Linked DNA regions of Homo sapiens: all the other regions are linked to region 3. Evidence: promoter capture Hi-C in 16 types of primary human blood cells and fetal thymus (Javierre and others, 2016). All regions are on one chromosome and are shown on one strand. The core of a region is centred on a gene start or on the middle of the fragment in contact, and the rest is flanking DNA. Distances in the headings are between cores, read along the strand shown. Region 1 has its middle 26 kb from the start of MIR4472-2. Region 2 has its middle 9.4 kb from the start of MIR4472-2. Region 3 holds the start of MAP1LC3B2 (microtubule associated protein 1 light chain 3 beta 2).

Region 1 (2,700 bases), core at 196-2,695, 100 kb before region 3:
AATCGCCTGAAACCGGGAGGTGGAGGTTGCAGTGAGCTGAGATCGTGCCACTGCACTCCAGCCTGGGTGACAGAGTGAAACTTGGTCTCAAAACAAAGCAACCAACCAACCACCTTATAGGATGTGGTGAGACTTGTAAAGCAAGGGCAGTCAAGTGCTTGGCCCAGGAATAAATAGACATTAAACCCAGCACTTCTCTAGAATCTGAGATGCCTGGCTCCTGATCTAATGGCCTGCACATCCCCTAATTTCTCATCCAGATGCTTTTTCTGTCACCCAGCTGGCTCTAGCTGAGTTACTGGTGTTCCTACTGAGTCTTCCTTACTCTGATCTGAAAGCCTAAGATATGCATCTTACATAAAAATTAGAATCATGGGGCAGCGTGGCTCATGCCTGTAAGCCCAGCACTTTGAGAGGCCGAGGCGGGCGAATCACAAGGTCAGGAGTTCAAGACCAGTATGGCCAACATTGTGAAATCCCATCTCTACTAAAAATACAAAAATTAGCCGGGCATGGTGATATGCATCTGTAATCCTAGCTACTTGGGAGGCTGAGGCAGGAGAATCACTTGAACCATGGAGGTGGAGGTTGCAGTGAGCCGAAATCATGCCACTGCCCTCCAGCCTGGGTGGCAGAGCGAGATTCTGTCTCAAAAAAAAAAAAAGATTCAAAAAAGATTCACGCATCTGGACATATCACTCAGCATGCAGACTGGAGTCCTCTCTTCTCTCCCACATCCTGGCGTCTCTTCTGTCCTCTGGCACACCATCACTGTTGGCCAGCAAGCTGGGTCTCTCATCTCTTCAGCCTTGTCTCCATCCTAGCTCTGTGTCTCTGGGTCAGTACCAATTATCCATACACACATTCATGCATCCCAGGACAAGGCCAAGCTTCTGTCGGGAACACGGACTCCATTTGAAGTCAGGCAGGTAGGGTGGGGATCTGGCCCTTATACCTGGCTGTGGAACCTTGAGTGTGTTACTCAACCCCTCTTGGCCTCAGTTTCTTTATCTGTAAAGCATGGACAGCCATGTTTACCTGTCAGGGCCACCCTGAGTATGAAATGAACTAACAAATGGGAAGCCAGCATGGTTTAATGAACGTGTTCTCCAGGAAGTAGGGGTCAAAAAACAACCCTCTCTATATATTGCAGCAGTGTAAAGAGCCTTATATGCATTCTTCCCATGTTACAGTGGGGACAGGGGCTCAGAGATGTGAAGTGAGCTTCCCAAGGTCACACAGCAAGTGAGCGGAAGGGCTCTGCGCCTAACTTCCCGTACCACCTCAGGCCAGCTCCTTCTCTACTTGGGGCCTCCGTGTCCCCATCATTGTTCAGATGATCTAGAAGCTCTCGTTCTATTCTTTTTCTTTTTTTTTTTTTTCAGACAGAGTCTCACTCTTGTTGCCCAGGCTGGAGTGCAGTGGTGCGGTCTTGGAACATGGGAGGCAACCTTAGCCTCCCAGGTTCAAGCAATTCTCATGCCTCAGCCTCCCAAATGGCTGGGATTATAGGCACTTGCCACCACGCCTGGCTAATTTTTGTATTTTTAGTAAAGACGGGGTTTCACCATGTTGGCCAGGCTGGTCTTGAACTCCTGACCTCAGGTGATCTGCTGCCTCAGACTCCCAAAGTGCTGGGATTACAGGTGTGAGCCAACATGCCTGGCCTCTCGTTCTCTTCTATATCCAGAGTCCTAACTCCCTCATGGTTCATCTCCTGGGAGGGGCGGGGACGGCTTACCCACCTGTCCTTCACCTGGCCTCCTGACCCACAGGCAGTGCCCCCACATCTGTCCCCAAGGCTTCTCTCCCCTCCCTTCCCTCTCTCCTTCCTGCTGCTTAAGAGCATTATTTGCTTCTTGCAAAATGGCCTTATGCTGGGGAGAGCCCCCTCTGCGTCCTACAGGTATTTCTGCTCTTGGCTGACTTGTTTTCACAGTGCCGATCTGACAGTTCTGCAATGGAAATGAGGGTTTTCTGGCATGGTTGTGGCAGGGTGCGGAAGCTTTACTCAGCTCAGACTCATGACAACGATGATTCCTCATAATAAGCCCTCTCATCTGAGTCAGCTACCCAGGAATTCTATAAAATACGTGGGAAGAGGCCCCTGGTGGGAACTTAGATCCCGACGGTCACTCTTCCTGGTGTGGCTGGTCCTGCCTTAGTTACTGCCACCTCCCTCTGCCCTTCACAGCCAATTCCTACTTCTCCTTCAAGTCTGGTCTAAAATGTCACCTCCTTAGAGAGGCCCTCCCAGATTGCTCATGTAAATAGCCTCTTCCCTCCATTCTCATCCTAGCTTCCTGTTTGCTTCCTTCAGCAGACTTAACCCAAATTACAATTTTACACATTCATGTTATTTGCGGGCTGTTAAGTATTAAAGATTCTGAAAGGGGTGGGGCTGGCGTCACGTTTTTCATTGATCCCTGCCCCAGCTCTGTCAGTGTCTAGCACACAGTAGGTACTCCATGCATTTTCGGTGAATGAATAAAAACATTGTTTGGAGCAGTGAGGGAGGCCCGGGGAAGCTGCTTTTTGGCAGTGAGAACACGCGGAGCTGGAGATCCTCCTGCAGGGAGCTGACTTCATCCTTCTTGTTCCCGTCCCAAACCTTGTCCAGAGGCTACAGGGAGGGAACTGTATGTACAACTATCTTTGCAGCTTTTCAGACTTCCGAACAAGCTGCCTTCCCAAGAAAAC
Region 2 (2,700 bases), core at 151-2,650, 120 kb before region 3:
CGAGTTTCACAGGCATGAGATCAGTGCCCACACAGGGGCTGGCGCTTAGAAGGGTAATGCTCTCTCGAAGCTCTGCTGTCACCAACTTGAACTTCGTAATAATTTTTGCACAAGGGACTCTGCATTTTCATTTCGCCCCGGGCTGCACAAATTGTGCAGCTGTCCCTGCTGTGTATCTTACAGGAGCAATTGCCTGCTTCTCCCTCCTCCTCTCTCAACTCTGAACTCCTTGGGATGTAAGATTCAGCTAACTCATCTAGCTCTACATCCACCCCTAGCCCATGCCCGGCCTGCAGCAGGTGCTCACATTCTGGTTGGGAGCGACAGAGGTGAGCAGAGCCACAGCTGTTGTTCCTGCCCCCACAGCCCCCTAAACACCCCAAGAATAGCTTCTAGCCCAGGGAGCCTCGGGAACTGCCTGAGAACAAAACTTTCCCGAAGGTGCAGACTCTGGCCAGCGGCCATGGAACCAGGCCTTTCCAGGACGATTGGTGCAACCAGGGGAACTTGCAGCTCTCTGCAAAAGGGGAATCCTAGCCAGGCCCGAAAGACCCTAATCAATAGTTCATTAAGATGCCAGCTCAGAAAATGCAGGGAGACCCAGCATAACGTGTAATTCTGCCTGCGTGGGCTGGTGCTGGGCAGGGTTTTCGCAAGCTGGCAGGGCCCGCAGATAACACTGAGCCCAAAGTGCAGGCTGCAGTCCGAGCACAAGGCAAACACGACCCTCCCTAAGTGGCAGATGTGATTCAGTCCAAAGGTTCAAGTGCGGCAGTTACATTGGTTATGAGATTTTTTCCCCCTTTATACCAGGAGCTGGCAGTGTGGGGGAGGGGGAGAAACCAACACTTGTTGAGCACCTACTATGTGTCTGACTCTGAGCTGGACACACATTAGGAGAAAGGGGTTCAGGACCAGGCAAAAAGTGGGTTTGGGTATTTCTGGGGGTGGAGTTGGACATCATTCCTCTTTCCTGCCTCCCTGACGCGTCCTCCATTCATAATAACTGATTTTTTAAAAAACTGAAGCAAAATGCAATAGCAAAATAGACCGTTGTTGGCCAGGTGCGGTGGCTCACGCCTGTAATCCCAGCACTTTGGGAAACCAAGGTGGGCAGATCACCTGAGGTCAGGAGTTTGAGACCAGTCTAGCCAACATAGTGAAACCCCGTCTCTACTAAAAATGCAAAAATTAGCCAGGTGTGGTGACGCACGTCTATAGTCCCAACTACTCAGGAGGCTGAGGCAGGAGAGTCACTTGAACCCAGAAGGTAGAGGTTGCAGTGAGCTGAGATTGTGCCACTGCACTCCAGCCTGGGCAACAGAGCAAGACTCTGTCAAGAAAGAAGGAAGGAAGGAAGGAAGGGGAAGAAAAAAAGACAGAAAGGTACAACACAGTGGCATTTACTACATTCCCAGGATTCTGCAACCACCACCTCTATCAAGTTCCAAAATATTTCTGTCACTGCAGAAGGAAACCCTAAACCCGCTATCTTTCATTCACTCGTTCTGCTCCTATTCTCTCCCCTCCCTGCCCCTCTCCCTGTCGACCCTGGCAACCACTCACTCATGTGCTTTCCGTCTCTATGGATTTACCTATGCTGGACACTTCATAGAAATGGAATTATACAATTTGCAACCTTTGGTTTCTGGCTTCCTTCACTTCTTCAGCATGATGTTGCTAGATTCATCCATGGCATGGCGTGTGTCAATACTTCATTCCTTTACTGCCAAATCATATTCCGTTGCATGGCTATGCCACGATTTGCTCATCTTCCCATTCAACGATGGCCATTTAGGTCACGTCCACCTTTTGGTTTTTATGAATAATACTATGTACATTACACTTGCTATGTGTACACGTTTCTATATGGACATATGTTTTTGACTCTCGGGTGTATATCTGGGATATCTGGGAGTGGGATTGCTGGGTCTTAGGGCAACTGTATGTTTAGCATTTTCAGGAACTCCCAAACTGTTTCTGAAGGCAACTGCACCATGTGACATTCCCCCACCAGTGTAACATGTGTAACACGTGGGAATGCAGCATGGAAGGAATGTACAAGGGTTCTGATTCTTCACACCCTCACCAACACTTATTATTTTGTTTGTTTCATAATCACCAATTTTTCATGCCGGTGGAGATGAGGCCCTGTCTGCCACGGGGTCTTGTGCACAGAGCCATGTCTTCCAGATTTGCAGGAGAGCCCTACAGAAGCCAGACTGCAAGAAGAGCAATTTGAGTCCTGCCAGAAAGAATCTTTTTTTTTTTTTTTTTTTTTGAGACGGAGTCTCGCTCTGTCGCCCAGGCTGGAGTGAAGTGGTGCGATCTCGGCTCACTGCAAGCTCCACCTCCTGGGTTCACACCATTCTCCTGCCTCAGCCTCCCCAGCAGCTGGGACTACAGGCGCACGCTGCCATGCCCAGCTACTTTTTGTATTTTTTTAAGTAGAGACAGGGCTTCACCGTGTTAGCCAGGATGGTCTCGATCTCCTGACCTCGTGATCCACCCGCCTTGGCCTCCCAAAGTGCTGGGATTACAGGCGTGAGCCACTGCGCCCGGCCCAAGAATTAATCTTACATGGAAGAGCCCGATAGACTGAGAAGCTCCGGGCTGCACTGGTCTTAAAGGGCCTGCCTCCGGGTGGTATGTAGGTGCCTTGGGGAGAACGTGGCTGTGTGTGTGAGTTGAGAGAGAGCT
Region 3 (2,700 bases), core at 44-2,543:
GTGTGAGACTTCCAAATAGTACTCACGGGGAGGGAAATGAAAGGAGAGGATTGGGGAAGAAACACCTTCTATTTTTTTTTTTTTTTTTTTTTTTTAGAGACAGGGTCTTGCTCTGTCACCCAGGCTGCAGCCTGGACCTCTTGGGCTCAAGGGATCCTCCCACCTTAGCCTCCTGTGTAGCTGGGACCACAGGCGTGCACCGCCACACCCAGCTAATTTTTTTTATTTTTTTGCAGAGATGGGGTCTCTCTATGTTGCCCAGGCTGGCCTCAAACTCCTGGGCTCAAGTGATCCTCCCTTCTCGGCCTCCCAAAGTACTGGGATTACAGGGGTGAGCCACCTCACCTGTACAGCTTCTTTGGAGAATGGGCCTGGGCAGGTCAAACAGGGGCCACTCTACACCATCATGGCACAGCAAGAGCTGGGCTATGTAGGTTCAGTATTCTTTGTCATTTAATCCTTGTGACGACCTCGTGTCATCATTGCTGTTTTACAGATAAGGAACTGAGGCTCAGAGAGGTTCAGTGTCACAGCTAGCATTTCACTTACATATCACAGAGCAAAGGCTCTCTTTGTCCAGAGACAACGTGCCTTTAGGTGATAGAGCTAGGACTGGAACCCAAGTCTATCTGACTCAAAGTCCACACAGCTTGTCCCCCATCCCGCAGGGACCTCTCCACGCTAGTGAGCCCCACGAAACCCCCTCAGTGCTTCGTTCCAGTCTTTTACCTTCAAGCCCAGTCAGCGAGTTCTTTATTTCCACAAATGGTGCTATTAAACTAATGGCTTCGGGAGCTATAGGCTGGCCTCGGCACAGTTACACATCTCTCCACCCACCATGTTCTGGCTTCCAAATAAATACATTGGAAATTCCAGGAGCCGAAGCCCATTTGGAAACGTTTCCGGGCCACCATTTTGCTTTGGGATGGGCAAGAAGAGACACCCTAAACTTGAACTCCTGTCTGTGCAGCCTCCAGCCGGCCAGGCGCTAAATAAGGCCACGGCCCGTTTCCTCCTTCAAAAGTCCCTTGTAAAGGGCGATAGCAGACCCCATCAGGCAAAAAGCTGAGAAGCCAGGGTTGAAATAGAGGCCTCTTTCTGTTTGGTCAATCAGCAGCTGCAAAGGATGCGTAGGATGGAGCTAAATTTATTTGTTCCTTTCTTTCTCAGCAACAGCGACGAGGCCCGAGGTGCAGCTGTCTCGCCTCGCCTGTCTTTTGCAGGCACCGGCATGCACAGAAGATGGCTCTCCGGGAGGAAGATTCCTTTCCATTTTGTTCTCTCTCTGCCTCCGCAAGGCTCGCAGCCACCTCTCGGGAGTGCAGGGCCAGATCCTGTGCCAGCGGGTAGGAATATGTAGCTGCCTCCCAGCCCCAGGGTGGAAATCATGACCTTTGAGAAGCAGGCAAGCTGCACGGCATAGATACTCAGGCCTGGTGAAGGCAAAGTGGGGCCACACCCTAGAAAAACCACAAAAGTCCCCACAGCCTCTGCTTTCACTAGTCAGACCTGTGGGAAACTTGTAAGACACAGTCCATGTGATCGGCGGGTGGGGGCATGTTGGGAGGGGCCTTCCGAAGGCCACAGCCAGGCTGGCAGGGCAGAGTCCTTTCCAGAATTTATCTGTTTGCTTAAAGCCCAGCGGAGGGGCCACCTTCAGTCAACCCTCCAGCATACTGGTCCAAGTAGTTTTTTCAAAGTGCTTTGTGAGACTTTCAAAAGGTACCCATGGGGAGGGAAGTGAGAGGAGGAGGAGGGGACGGTGAAGAAACAGCTTCTTTATTTCTAGCCTTGCTTGAATGGCTTCTTGACGGTTACTGCTCCAGTTTTGCTGAGTCAGAAGAATCCCACAGCCGCTCACCGGAAACACAGCTGTTGGGCAAAAATAACCACAGAGCTGAGCATCATGCACCTTCCAGAAAAGATGGCAGAAAACCTCAAAACAAAAGAGAAATACAAAACAATAGGAGACACTGTCAAGAAAAAAAAAACAAAAACAAAAACCACCGCAGCTCACTAACCGATCCAAGCTGGTGGCGCTCTCCTGATCTCTCTCCACTCCCAGGCCCAGCAACGGCTCTGAAATAAAGCTAAGTTTGGCTATATATATATATATATATATATATATATATATATATATATATATATATATATGTATGTATATGTATATATATATATTTAGATAGAGTCTTCCTCTGTCGCCCAGGCTGGAATGCAGTGGCGCGCTCTCGGCTCGCTGCAACCTCTGCCTCCTGGGTTCAAGTGATTCTCCTGCCTCAGCCTTCCGACTAGCTGGGATTACAGGTGCGCCACCACGCCCAGCTAATTTTTGTATTTTTAGTAGAGACGAGGTTTCGCCATGTTGGCCAGGCTGGTCTCGAACTCCTGACCTCAAGTGATCCGCCCACCTCGGCCTCCCAAAGTCTTGGGATTACAGGTGTGAACCATCACATCTGGCCTACTTTTACACTGTAGTGGGTTTAATAGTGTCTCCCCAGTCACACCTCCACCAAAAAAAGAAAAGATATGTCCACAGTCTAATGTGCTGCAGCACCTGTGAATGTGACCTTAATGGAGAAAGGATCTTTGCAGGTGTAAATTAATTTTAGGATCTCAAGATTGAATCATCCTAGACTACCTGGGTGGACCTCAAATCCAATGACAGGTATCCTTATAAAAGGAAGGCAGATCCAGCTTGGG

What was found. The method cuts DNA at HindIII sites, captures the fragments that hold promoters and counts their contacts. A CHiCAGO score of 5 or more calls a contact.
Region 1: a fragment that was not itself captured here is called in contact with the fragment with the promoter of MAP1LC3B2 in region 3 in 3 of 17 cell types (naive B cells, total B cells and M1 macrophages); the score reaches 5.2 in naive B cells.
Region 2: a fragment that was not itself captured here is called in contact with the fragment with the promoter of MAP1LC3B2 in region 3 in 4 of 17 cell types (M0 macrophages, neutrophils, naive B cells and 1 more); the score reaches 5.5 in M0 macrophages.

Annotation. Positions count from the first base shown.
Region 1 is chr12:116,453,052-116,455,751 of GRCh38, forward strand. No RefSeq gene overlaps it. Among named protein-coding and RNA genes, the nearest start is that of MIR4472-2, 26 kb to the left of the region's middle. RefSeq lists an enhancer at 1,594-2,132. The HindIII fragment of the contact is 1,115 bases long and covers 889-2,003 here.
Region 2 is chr12:116,436,332-116,439,031 of GRCh38, forward strand. No RefSeq gene overlaps it. Among named protein-coding and RNA genes, the nearest start is that of MIR4472-2, 9.4 kb to the left of the region's middle. The HindIII fragment of the contact is 5,987 bases long and covers 1-2,700 here.
Region 3 is chr12:116,558,088-116,560,787 of GRCh38, forward strand. MAP1LC3B2 (microtubule associated protein 1 light chain 3 beta 2) reads left to right here and starts at 1,294. Exons shown (of 2, transcript NM_001085481.3): 1 at 1,294-1,346. RefSeq lists enhancers at 789-1,298, 1,138-1,477, 1,698-1,747, 1,788-1,887. The HindIII fragment of the contact is 18,876 bases long and covers 1-2,700 here.